2 separate regions of the Homo sapiens genome follow, and region 1 is linked to region 2. Evidence: promoter capture Hi-C in 16 types of primary human blood cells and fetal thymus (Javierre and others, 2016). All regions are on one chromosome and are shown on one strand. The core of a region is centred on a gene start or on the middle of the fragment in contact, and the rest is flanking DNA. Distances in the headings are between cores, read along the strand shown.

Evidence for each region. The method cuts DNA at HindIII sites, captures the fragments that hold promoters and counts their contacts. A CHiCAGO score of 5 or more calls a contact.
Region 1: a contact is called between a fragment that was not itself captured here and the fragment with the promoter of BMF in region 2, in 1 of 17 cell types (total B cells). The highest score is 6.0, in total B cells.

The regions. Positions count from the first base shown.
Region 1 is chr15:40,352,232-40,357,213 of GRCh38, reverse strand. PHGR1 (proline, histidine and glycine rich 1) reads right to left here. Exons shown (of 4, transcript NM_001145643.2): 2 at 3,947-3,982; 3 at 2,862-2,869; 4 at 780-1,141. The coding sequence starts at 3,956. The coding sequence ends at 911. Among named protein-coding and RNA genes, the nearest start is that of DISP2, 3.5 kb to the left of the region's middle. RefSeq lists an enhancer at 2,285-2,810. The HindIII fragment of the contact is 613 bases long and covers 1,192-1,804 here.
Region 2 is chr15:40,106,756-40,111,637 of GRCh38, reverse strand. BMF (Bcl2 modifying factor) reads left to right here and starts at 2,759. Exons shown (of 5, transcript NM_001003940.2): 1 at 2,759-2,865; 2 at 3,252-3,379. RefSeq lists silencers at 2,702-2,951, 4,436-4,730 and an enhancer at 3,461-4,156. The HindIII fragment of the contact is 6,207 bases long and covers 1-4,511 here.

The sequences.
Region 1 (4,982 bases), core at 249-2,748, 250 kb before region 2:
GGTTGAAGACATGGGGCTGAGGAGAGAGTCAGGAACACTTGGACTATAGGTATCCCTAAAATGTGTGCCAATGCCAGTCCGTGTAAGACACAGGTCATAAGAAATGGGGTGGAAGAATCTAGAGGTGTAGAAGTGTTGGGTCTGCCCTGAATAGCTTATAGTTTGGTTGGAGAGATAAAGGGCCAGCCCATAAATTGCTGCCAATAGGCAAGATATGGTGAGGCCCATGAGGTGGTTGAGAAGGGGACAGTATGCAAAAAGGAAGGACCTCTTTCTTCCTAATAGGCCTTAGAGAAGGCTTCTTGGAGATGGTGGGGCTTCAGCTGGCTTGGAAGAAAGGGTGGGCTTTGAAATGTGGAGGTAGGAGAGAGGGAAGGCCTTCCTGACCTGGGGTGGGGGCATTCTTCCTTACCTGTGCAAACAAAGGTAAGGGGGCTGGAAAGTTCAGTGTATTTTAAGGGAATGGTGAGAAACCATCTGGATTGGAGGGAGGCTTCTGGTCTGTAGAGTGAGGCATGCAAGCTGCAACCTTGGAAGGCCCACCAGATCTGGATGTACAGGATGGCATAGAGGTAATGAGGCCACACTTGAAGTTCCTCGATGGGAGGGCACAGGAGTGAAAAGGAAAGGAGAGGTGACCTTACACAGCCATTTATAGTGAGCACCATGGCATTAAGCTTCTGAGAATGCCAGGATGGTTGCCCCATCTTCACAACTAGGGAGCTTGGAGACAACTGGGTCCTCTGACAGCCAGGTTGGATATGAAGGAAGACAGGCTCTTTAAAGAATAGAATGTGGCCTCTAGGAGGCTGTTTATTAGGAAGAGAAGATTGTGGTTTAGGCCTCATTCCAGGTCAGCTGGGCAATTCTCTCAGGCTTGCCATCTTGTGTCCTGTTTTCTTCTACTTCCTCAGTGATGTGGACCAGGGGGTGGGTGACCTGGGCCATGGCCAGGGGGAGGCCCGCAGGGCCCTGGACCATGGTGGGGGGGTGGCCCGCAGGGCCCTGGGCCATGGCCAGGGGGTGGCCCGCAGGGCCCTGGACCATGGTGGGGGGGTGGCCCGCAGGGCCCTGGGCCATGGCCAGGGGGTGGCCCGCAGTGACCTGGAGGATGGCCATGCCCCCCACAGTGGCAGTGCCCCTGTGGAAAGTCAAATGAACAATGTCAGAGTCAGAGGTCAGGGCTAAGCTTACCTGAGATCAGCTCTCCCTCACTCCACTTCCCTGGGGGACTCAGGATTTCTAGGCAAGTAAGGAGTTGCGGTGGAGGGCTGGGGGCATGGGTAGCATGTCCCGTGCCTTTTGCCTTGGTGAGGCCAGAACACTGAGCAGATAAAAGGCAAGCAACCTAGATTTATTGGTTTCTATTCTTTGAGCCAAGATATGACTCCCGCTCCCTGTACCTCGATTTATTTTATTTGCAACTAAGAAGCAGAATTATTTCATCTTCTCCTTTCTCTCACCCAGGAACCCTTGCAGAGTGATTAGAGGCTTTGCCATGCTAGGAACTGCAGGCTCATTGTACTTAGGAGCAAGGGTGAGGCTAGAGGAGGCTACAGAAGAGCTCTTTGAAGGCCAGGGGCAGGGGGAGACAGGAGGCTGGGTCAGGGGAGATGAAAGAGCTGAGGAGGGGAAGAAGGAAGACAGTTGGAGGATGAGAAGACACGGAGGGTAGGAGGTGGCAAGGTGAGGATGTATGTATTCTTTTTATAGGTAGTGTGTATGTGTGTAGACGGTGTGTGCCATATTTATATAAAATAGCTATGTTTGTGTACGTGTGCATGGGTGGGTTCATATTCAAGCTTGGTATGTACACAGATACGTGCATGGAGTGCATGGTTCTGTGTACATGAGTATGTGCGAGCTCATACCTGTTCCTGAGCGGATGCCAGACCCAAGAAATCAGGAAGAATAGAAAGTAAAATCAAAGCTTTTCTGCCTCAGTCAGAAGAGGTCTGGAAAAAGTGTGGTTTAACCTTCCATCTTGGCTGGAATCATTCCTGAAGTCCCAAGGCCAGGGGAGTTTTTTGTTTTTTTTTTGTTTTTTTAACTTTTTGCCACAAGCCCAGGGGGCAGGCAAGAGATACCACCTTGCTTCTGTGGTAGGGGACTCGGGGTCTGGGGCCCTGTGGAGCAGGGCGGGGCTATGCTCCCACTGTCTGGGCTGGATAACTCCCCAGTCTCCTTCTGCCTCCTAGGGCTTGATTAGGGCTTGGTACCAGTGGGGAAGAGGCAGGCTCCAGGGCTGGGCGCTTTCCTGTGACCATGGTAGAGCAGCCCCTGCCCCATCCAGGCTCAGTGATGCCTGGAAACAGCCACTTCCCACCCCACCTGCCTCTCTGCCTATGGCTCTTTTGTTTGGGGGTTGGCACACAGACCAGGCCTAGGAACTGAGTCTGCTGGTGGTAGCCAGTGGGTGAGAAGAGGTGGAGGAGACGCAGTCTCCTTTCTCTGGCAGGAGTAGGTCCTAGGGGCCCCATAGTGTGGTTGGAGTTTGGGAGCAAGCCAGCTATCCAGCAAGGCTGTGGGGGTAGCCAGGAAAGCAGAAAAGCATAGCACAGGCGGGGAAGCAGCAGGAGAGAGGATGGGCTGCTAGGGCAGGGAGGGGACGTGAGGAAAGGAGAGAGACAGATGGGAAAACAGAGGAGAGAACGCCAAGAAGGCTGCAGCCAGCAGGGGGTGGAGGAGTGCAGCGCTGCCCACCCCACCCCCACTCCACGGGGCTGCTGCCTGAGCCTGCTCCCTTCTTTTCATTTGGGGGAAGTGGTGGCTGCTCCCTGAGGGTCTAGGAAGGAGGCTAGGGGTCTGGAGGACATGACAGTGGGAGGAAAAAGGGGAGACCATTGGGGGAACTTTCCTACCTTCGGACCTGTGGGAGAGGAAGGGAAAAAAAAGAAGCAGCTTTGGTCATTTGGTTCTGCAGTAAAAAAAAACCTGTCTTCTCCCTGGCACTAAGGATTTTGTGCCCACACCCCTAACCCAACAGGGCCTCTCAGACATGGTCACTTGCCTGACAATCATTCCTTCATTCATTCTCTCAGCAAAGATACATATTGGAAGTCAATATAAGGTTCAGCAGTGTGTCCCTGTGTGCTCAAGGGCTGGCTGAGTCCTCCTGGGTGGAGTGGCGCCAGTTAGGAGGTATGGGTTCTTGTCTCAACTCTGTCAGCCTGGAGGTGCTCCATGGTGGCCAACCCTGTCATCCACCTGATTCTTGCTTCTACCTCCAGGCCAGCAGCCCTGCCAACCTCCCCATCTGTCCTCTGCCCCTGTCACGCCCCACGTATCTCGGCCCAATCTCTGCTCAGCCTCTCAGAGCTGTTTGTTGTCTCCTGTTTATGACCTTCTGTTCTCAGCTCTTGGCCTTTGCTCATGCCTCCTCCCACTTGGAAATCTCCCTGGAGCAGCTGCGTGTTGCCCTCATGCAGGAAATCCACATGGGAGCCATCCAGGCTGCCCAGCTGTGGGTCCACTGGGCTCCTGCAGCACCCACCTGAGTGGTCCTGCATGTTCTGAAGTGCCCCATTGGTGTGGGAATCACCTGCTACTTCTTAAAGGCTAGGACGGTCTTTTGTTCATTTCGAGGGAAGCCGATGGCACAGCTCCCAAGAACTGGATTCTGGATTCCGACCCAGCTGCACCTCTATGGCCTTTCCCTGAGCATAACCCCTAGCTCCCCTGGGCCTTGAGTGTGCGGTGGGAGAAGCACCTACCCTTAGAAGCACCTAAGAACATGATGAGTAAGCATGCTTTTTAAACTGTAACATGTTCTACAGTATGTAAGGGCTTGTCTTCATTGTGGACCCCTACCACTGCCTTCATACAAACACACACGCACGTACATTTTTGGCACGCACTAGTTATGGCTGACTGATAGTCCCTGCCTTTACCGCTCTCCTGCTCTCTCCCTTCTTCCAATTCCCAGCCTCTCAGCCACAGTGCTTACCTGGGTCCATCTTTTTGGAGTAAGAGCAGGGAATACCTGTGTTCAAAAGGTAACTTTTAATTTACTGTAATCTAAATTGCAGTCTTTCCTTTCTCCCTCCCACGGATGCGCGCGCGCGCGCACACACACACACACACACACACACACACACACACACCCTTCAAAGGAAGAAAGGGAAAAAACTGCTCCCTCCGGCTTAGCTTGGCCCCAATATAGAGCTGGCACTGTAGGTGCCAGGCATGGGGGTTAAATGGACACAGCGGGTTCACCTACATGGTGGGTAGATGGAGACACAACAGCACCATGTACCAGCCCCTACACCCCATACTCTTACACTTGCCCCCCTAGACTCAACAATTGTGTGTTAATCCGATTCCTCTTGGGAAGATTTCAATATCCGTTCATTTGCTAATTATTCATGTTGTGTGTCTGCCCTGTGCCAGGTCATGGTATGCTTGTCCCTACAGACTCTTGTCTTGTGTAAACATCTGGCATGGCATGGGAGCAGGAAGCTTGGAGCTATCAGTGTGCCCAGTGCAGGGACGGGAAGGATGGTTTGCTAGGACAGGAATGGGGTTGGTGGCCCCTGAGGGCACAAGTGAATGGATTTTTGCCCTGGGGCTCAAGTGAATGGAAAGCCTTCCATGGGGTCCTAGCTGCTTGTACCTGTCTCCTCCCACCAGGATTGGAAGGGGGTGGGAGCTTGGAGTCTGAGCCAACTTGTCATTCACCAACAAGCCGTGCTGTCATGAGATGGAGCTGCTGAGGTAACGTGGTGCCAAGGCTGGCCATGTCTTGCTTGGGGCTGGCAAGTCACAATGGACAACCCCAGAATGGGCCCAGTGAACATACAGTACATTCATTTTTTTTCAACCCTCAAATGGGAGTGTAGTATGTGACGTCAGGAGCAAATACTTGACATCAGGGCTTTCTGGTACTTACAAGTTTGCTGAGCATACAAAAACAAACAGCGCCCCCAATACAACAACCCTAGCCTCTTGCAAGACACAGCCCCCTGAACCTCTTTTTTTTCTAG
Region 2 (4,882 bases), core at 1,510-4,009:
ACCCTAAAGCTCAGGACTCTGATGAGCCTGATGAGTACATAGATCCCATATCAATATCCCATTCTTGGCTGGGTGCGGTGGCTCATGCCTATAATCACAGCACTTTAGGAGGCCGAGGTGGGAGGAGTGCTCGAGGCCAGGAGTTCAAGACCAGCCTGGGCAACATAGTGAGACCCTGTCTGTACAAAAATAAAAAATTTAAAAAGTAGCTGGCTGTGGTGGTGCACACCTGCAGTCCCAGCTACTTGGGAGGCCGAGGTGGGAGGATCACTTGAGCCTGGGAGATTGAGGCTGCAATAAGCTGTGTTTGCACCACTGCACTGCAGCCTGGGAAACAGAGCAAGACCTTGTCTCAAAACAAACAAAAAGAACCCATTCTCTCAGCTTCTTTGCCTTGTGGACCCAATTTTACCATGCAGGGCTGTGATGAAGCACACAGAGCTTTAGCATCTCAGGTGGGTCAGGAGAGCTACGATGGCCCCAGCCCTCAGGGCCTGTGCTGTCCCAGAGGGCAGATTCAGAGCTGCTGTGGCCTTGAGTTTCACTCTTGAACCGAAGGAATGCTCAGGGGCACCACTGGCCAGCCTGAGACACTGGTCTGATAGGAAAGCAAATGAGAAGAGAAGGATGGAAGGAAGGAGCGGAAGGGAGTCGGTGCATTGGAAATCACGGAGGGCTGCCGGTGCCCTTCACAGAGGCTAGGTTTGGTTTCTGTATCTCCCTACATGTAGCAGGAGTGCAAGGTCACTCTGACCAGCTCAGACATGCACTTTTGGCCAAGCCTCTGGGTAAAATAATATACCTCCTTTTGGCTTAGTGCCTTTTGCTGGAAATCTATCAATTTCGGGGGACTGTGCTACTGGCTAACCTTGACTCCCCACTCTTTCCCTTTTCCCTCTTTGTCCTTTGGAGACAGTATTTTTCTATTCTAGCAACCACAGCCCTCAATATGGCTGGTTCATTCTGTTTCAGGTGACTTCTGAGGGAGCAAAGGAAAGAATGATGGGAAAAAGGTACAAGGAGACTTCAGGCTCTATTGGGCTGAAGGTCCCAGCTCCACTGAACTTAAATCTAAGTTTACAACCCAGAGAGCAGCTCGGTGGTCAGAGCACTGCTGAGCCCTACTGCCCCTGGTGGGTCAGGGTTGTTGCAGGACTGGCTCCCTCTCACTGCTCTCTGGACTCATCATTTTATCTTTCCTAAAACTCAGGCTTGGTCAAGTCACTCATCTCCAATAAAATCTTTGCTGCCTCCCCTTTATAAAATACAGATTCTTCAGTCTGGCATTCCAGGGACACCTCTGTAGTCTGACCTGAACCCACCTGCCCATGCCTACCGTTCGTAAATCTCAGTGTGCACCCAATGATCCAGTCACCAAGCCTCCCTCTGCTCCCTGCACAGGTAAGCTCTCCAGCTCAGCACTTCAGTCTGCTACCCTTAGGCCTGGGCTATTCTTTTTTATTTTATTTTATTTTTATTTTTTTGAGACGGAGTCTCATTGTCGCCCAGGCTGGAGTGCGGTGGCGCTATCTCCGCCCACTGCAACCTTCACCTCCTAGGTTCAAGCAATTCTCCTACCTCAGCCTCCCAAGTAGCTGGGATTACAGGCATGCGCCACCACGCCCGCCTGATTTTTGTATTTTTAGTAGAGACAGGGTTTCCCGTGTTGGCCAGGCTGGTCTCCAACCACTGAGCTCAAGTGAACCACCCGCCTCGGCCTCCCAAAGTGTTGGGATTACAGGCGTGAGACATGTGCATCTGGTTTTCCTTATTGAAAAATATTTCCCATTCAATTTAAAAGCTGTCTCCCTGAGGCCTTCTCCAGCCTTTGTATTCTGAATTTTTCTGCATTCCTCAATAGTCATTATCCTTGGAATGAATACAATTCCAATAACTTTTCACTATTTTCAGGGCTACCTCTCCTAGTAGACTGTAAGCTCCTTGAGGGCAGACGCCAGGTTTCTGGCACTCAGCCCAATATCTGGCACAGAGTAGGTGCTCGGTAAATGCCTGTGAAGTAGCCCATAGACTCCCTTACGCGGTCTGCAGGACATGCTGCTCTCCTGGCAGCACCAGCACAGTCTCTAAATGCTGCCATATGCGAGATATGTGTCAACCGCTCAAGCAGCCCCGGCCTTCTTGAGCGCTCCGCTTCTCAGCCAGGTGCTTATTTTGCCAGTGCCCACGCCCAGTCAAGAAGAGGACCTAAGGGCTCCCCTGGATGTGTTTGTTTCAAACACACCTTCAGCTTTGGAGCTGCAGTTTTCTTCCGACCTGCTCGGCAGGCGGGAGGGAGCTTTCCCCTGAGGCTGGGATCCCATAGGGACCCGCACCCTGCACCCTGCACCCACTGGACGCACCAGCCTCATAAAAAAACTCCCCGCCTCCTTCCCCCCTCCCTTTGTGGACGCGCAGCAATTATTCTGCCCATTGCCGTGAAAAAGAAGACAAAAGTTACTTTGGCGCCCCCTCTCCCACACCTAATACAGAGGATTCAGGGACTCTCTGGCGCTTCCAGAGCCTGTGTTAGGGACAGAATCCGCACTGGCGACGGCGCTCCGACTGCGCTTCTGGCGACGGTCGGAATTTTGCTCGGCCCCTTGCAATGTTTCCATGGGAAGGTTCGTACATTCGTGACCGTCCCTGGCAGCGGCCCAGCCCGGGACTTGGCGCTTCACTCGCCATTGGTCAGTCCTCGGCGTGACGCGCAGGGGGGCGGGGCCTCATCAGCTGTTTGCGGGATGCCCCGAGCAGGCGTATTTTGGAAACAATACCGCACCGTGCGGAGTGGCCTCCTCCCGCCCCGGCCTGTGCCCGCCGCCGCCGCCGCCCCTGCCTGCGCCTCCCGCCTCCTGCCGCAGCCCGGTGAGCGCCCGGGTGGCCGCCGGGGGCCGGGCGGAGTTGGATCGCAGCTCCTTGGGGAAGTGGGGAGCGGAGTCGCGCTGCGCACGGGGGCCCGGGAAGGGTTTGGGCTGCGGACGTCTGGGGTGACCATGAAGAACTGGGGCGCTGGGGTGAGGGAACGGGGTGCAGAACCCACAGTTGGGTGCGCTGCTCCAAGAGGGAACTTGGGGGTAGCATTTGGGACTCGAAGGAGTTGGGTCCAGGTAGGCAGGGGAACCTGGGGTGCACTGCTGAGCAGACCTGGGCGCCCGAGAACGGCCCAGCCTCTGGGTCTGACTTTGGGATAGGACAGGAGCTGTGGGGCATCCTGCCTCTCTGCGGAGTCTGAAGGCTCCTCTCCTTAACAGCTGGGCTTTTTCCCTCCTTCCCAATCGAGTCTGGGCGTCCAGCCCCCGAGTGCTCGTCACGCTGGACCCTGGCGCGGAGCCCTGGCATCACGACTCGGAGGCCGAGACTCTCTCCTGGAGTCACCCAGGTCTGGGGTGTGTGTGTGTGTGTGTGTGTGTGTGTGTGTTCCTAGTCACTGTCGAGGATCTGGGTGTCTGACTACTGCCTTCTCCTAAGAGGAGGAGGAGTCTAAGTTCAGCATCCCTCTTCCAGCCCTTAGGGGTTGGGATGGCTGCAGCGGGGCTTGAGTTCCTTTGCTAGGAATAAAGCATTCCCTGGCCCTGTTCTCAGGAAGTGCCCTCCTCCTCCCACCGCTCTGGACATCACCTCTTAAGCTCAGGAGAAAAATTTCACCCTCTCTTAGTTTACCCTTGACCTTGGCCAGCACCCCTCCAGAGGCGCCCACCTACAGGCAAGCCACCTACAGTTTGTGGAGCGTGAGAGGGGTCCCTGGGGCTTGCAGAGCCACACCTTCTGGCTGCACCTCCCCCACTGTCCAGTCCAGGCAAAGGTTGAACTTTGGGGCTTTGCTGGGAGGGGGAGGGGAAGGTGATAGGCTTCAAAGGAAAAACCAAGACAATGACTCGTGCTGGTGATTGGCTTTGAGGGCCCCTTCTTAGGTCAAGATTGCTAGCCTGAGAAGAGGAGGTTGGAGAGCTGGAGGGGAGCCCCTGCCAGGTGACTGGCGGGACAGCACTTGGTCCTTTCATCAGGAAATTTTGTTTCCTGTTGTTAATAAGCTGGAGTGCACCACCTCACCCCCCTCCCCATACACACACACACACACACACACACACACACACACACACACACTTGGGAAACACGGTCCAAAGAACACCACGTGGCTGCTTGCCATCCTAGCAGGCATCTCCTCATTCTCCAGGGAAGAGGGCACAGACAGGACCATAGACAGCTCAGGGACAGGGATGGGATGGGACGAAGGCAGGGCCCAAGCAAGCAGCTCACAGCTTGTGTTTGGCAAAGGCAGCATTCTGAATTGAACTGAGATTCTTTTAGCTACTTCACCAATCCATAGACCATTTGGCTTGTTCTTCAAAGGCAAGAGACTAGGGGACAGAACCCCCAGGAATCTCTAATTGAGTCTGACAAGAATGAAATTCATCTCTTTTTATCCTTAGCTGTTCAGGTGGTTGCTGCTTCTGGCTGCTGCAGGGGCCCTAAGCAGTTCCTGGTATGTGTAGGGAGCTGGGTTGGAAGCTTAAGATGCTGAGTAGCTCCAAGCTCAGACTTTCAAGAGCCATCAGGTGGAGCAAGAGGAACTTCTTTATCACCAAGAAACTCATATCAATAACTTCAGCAGTATAGGCAGTGAGTGAGGTCACAGGGAGAGGGCTGAATTTCACTTCCTTCTGTAAGACCAGTTGTACCAGTCTCAGGTTCAGAGCTGGCAGGAGCGGGAGGCTGTGGAATCAGGGATTTGAAGTCGTGGAGACTAGTGAGGAGACTTAGTTGGGAGAGGCTGGACCTACCCTCTAGGCCAAACTTTGGTGGGCAGACAGCTCAACTCTGCTCAAAGAGAGCCGAGACGGCAGCTGCAATGACTAGCTTGGGTCTTTATCCCCTCTCCCAG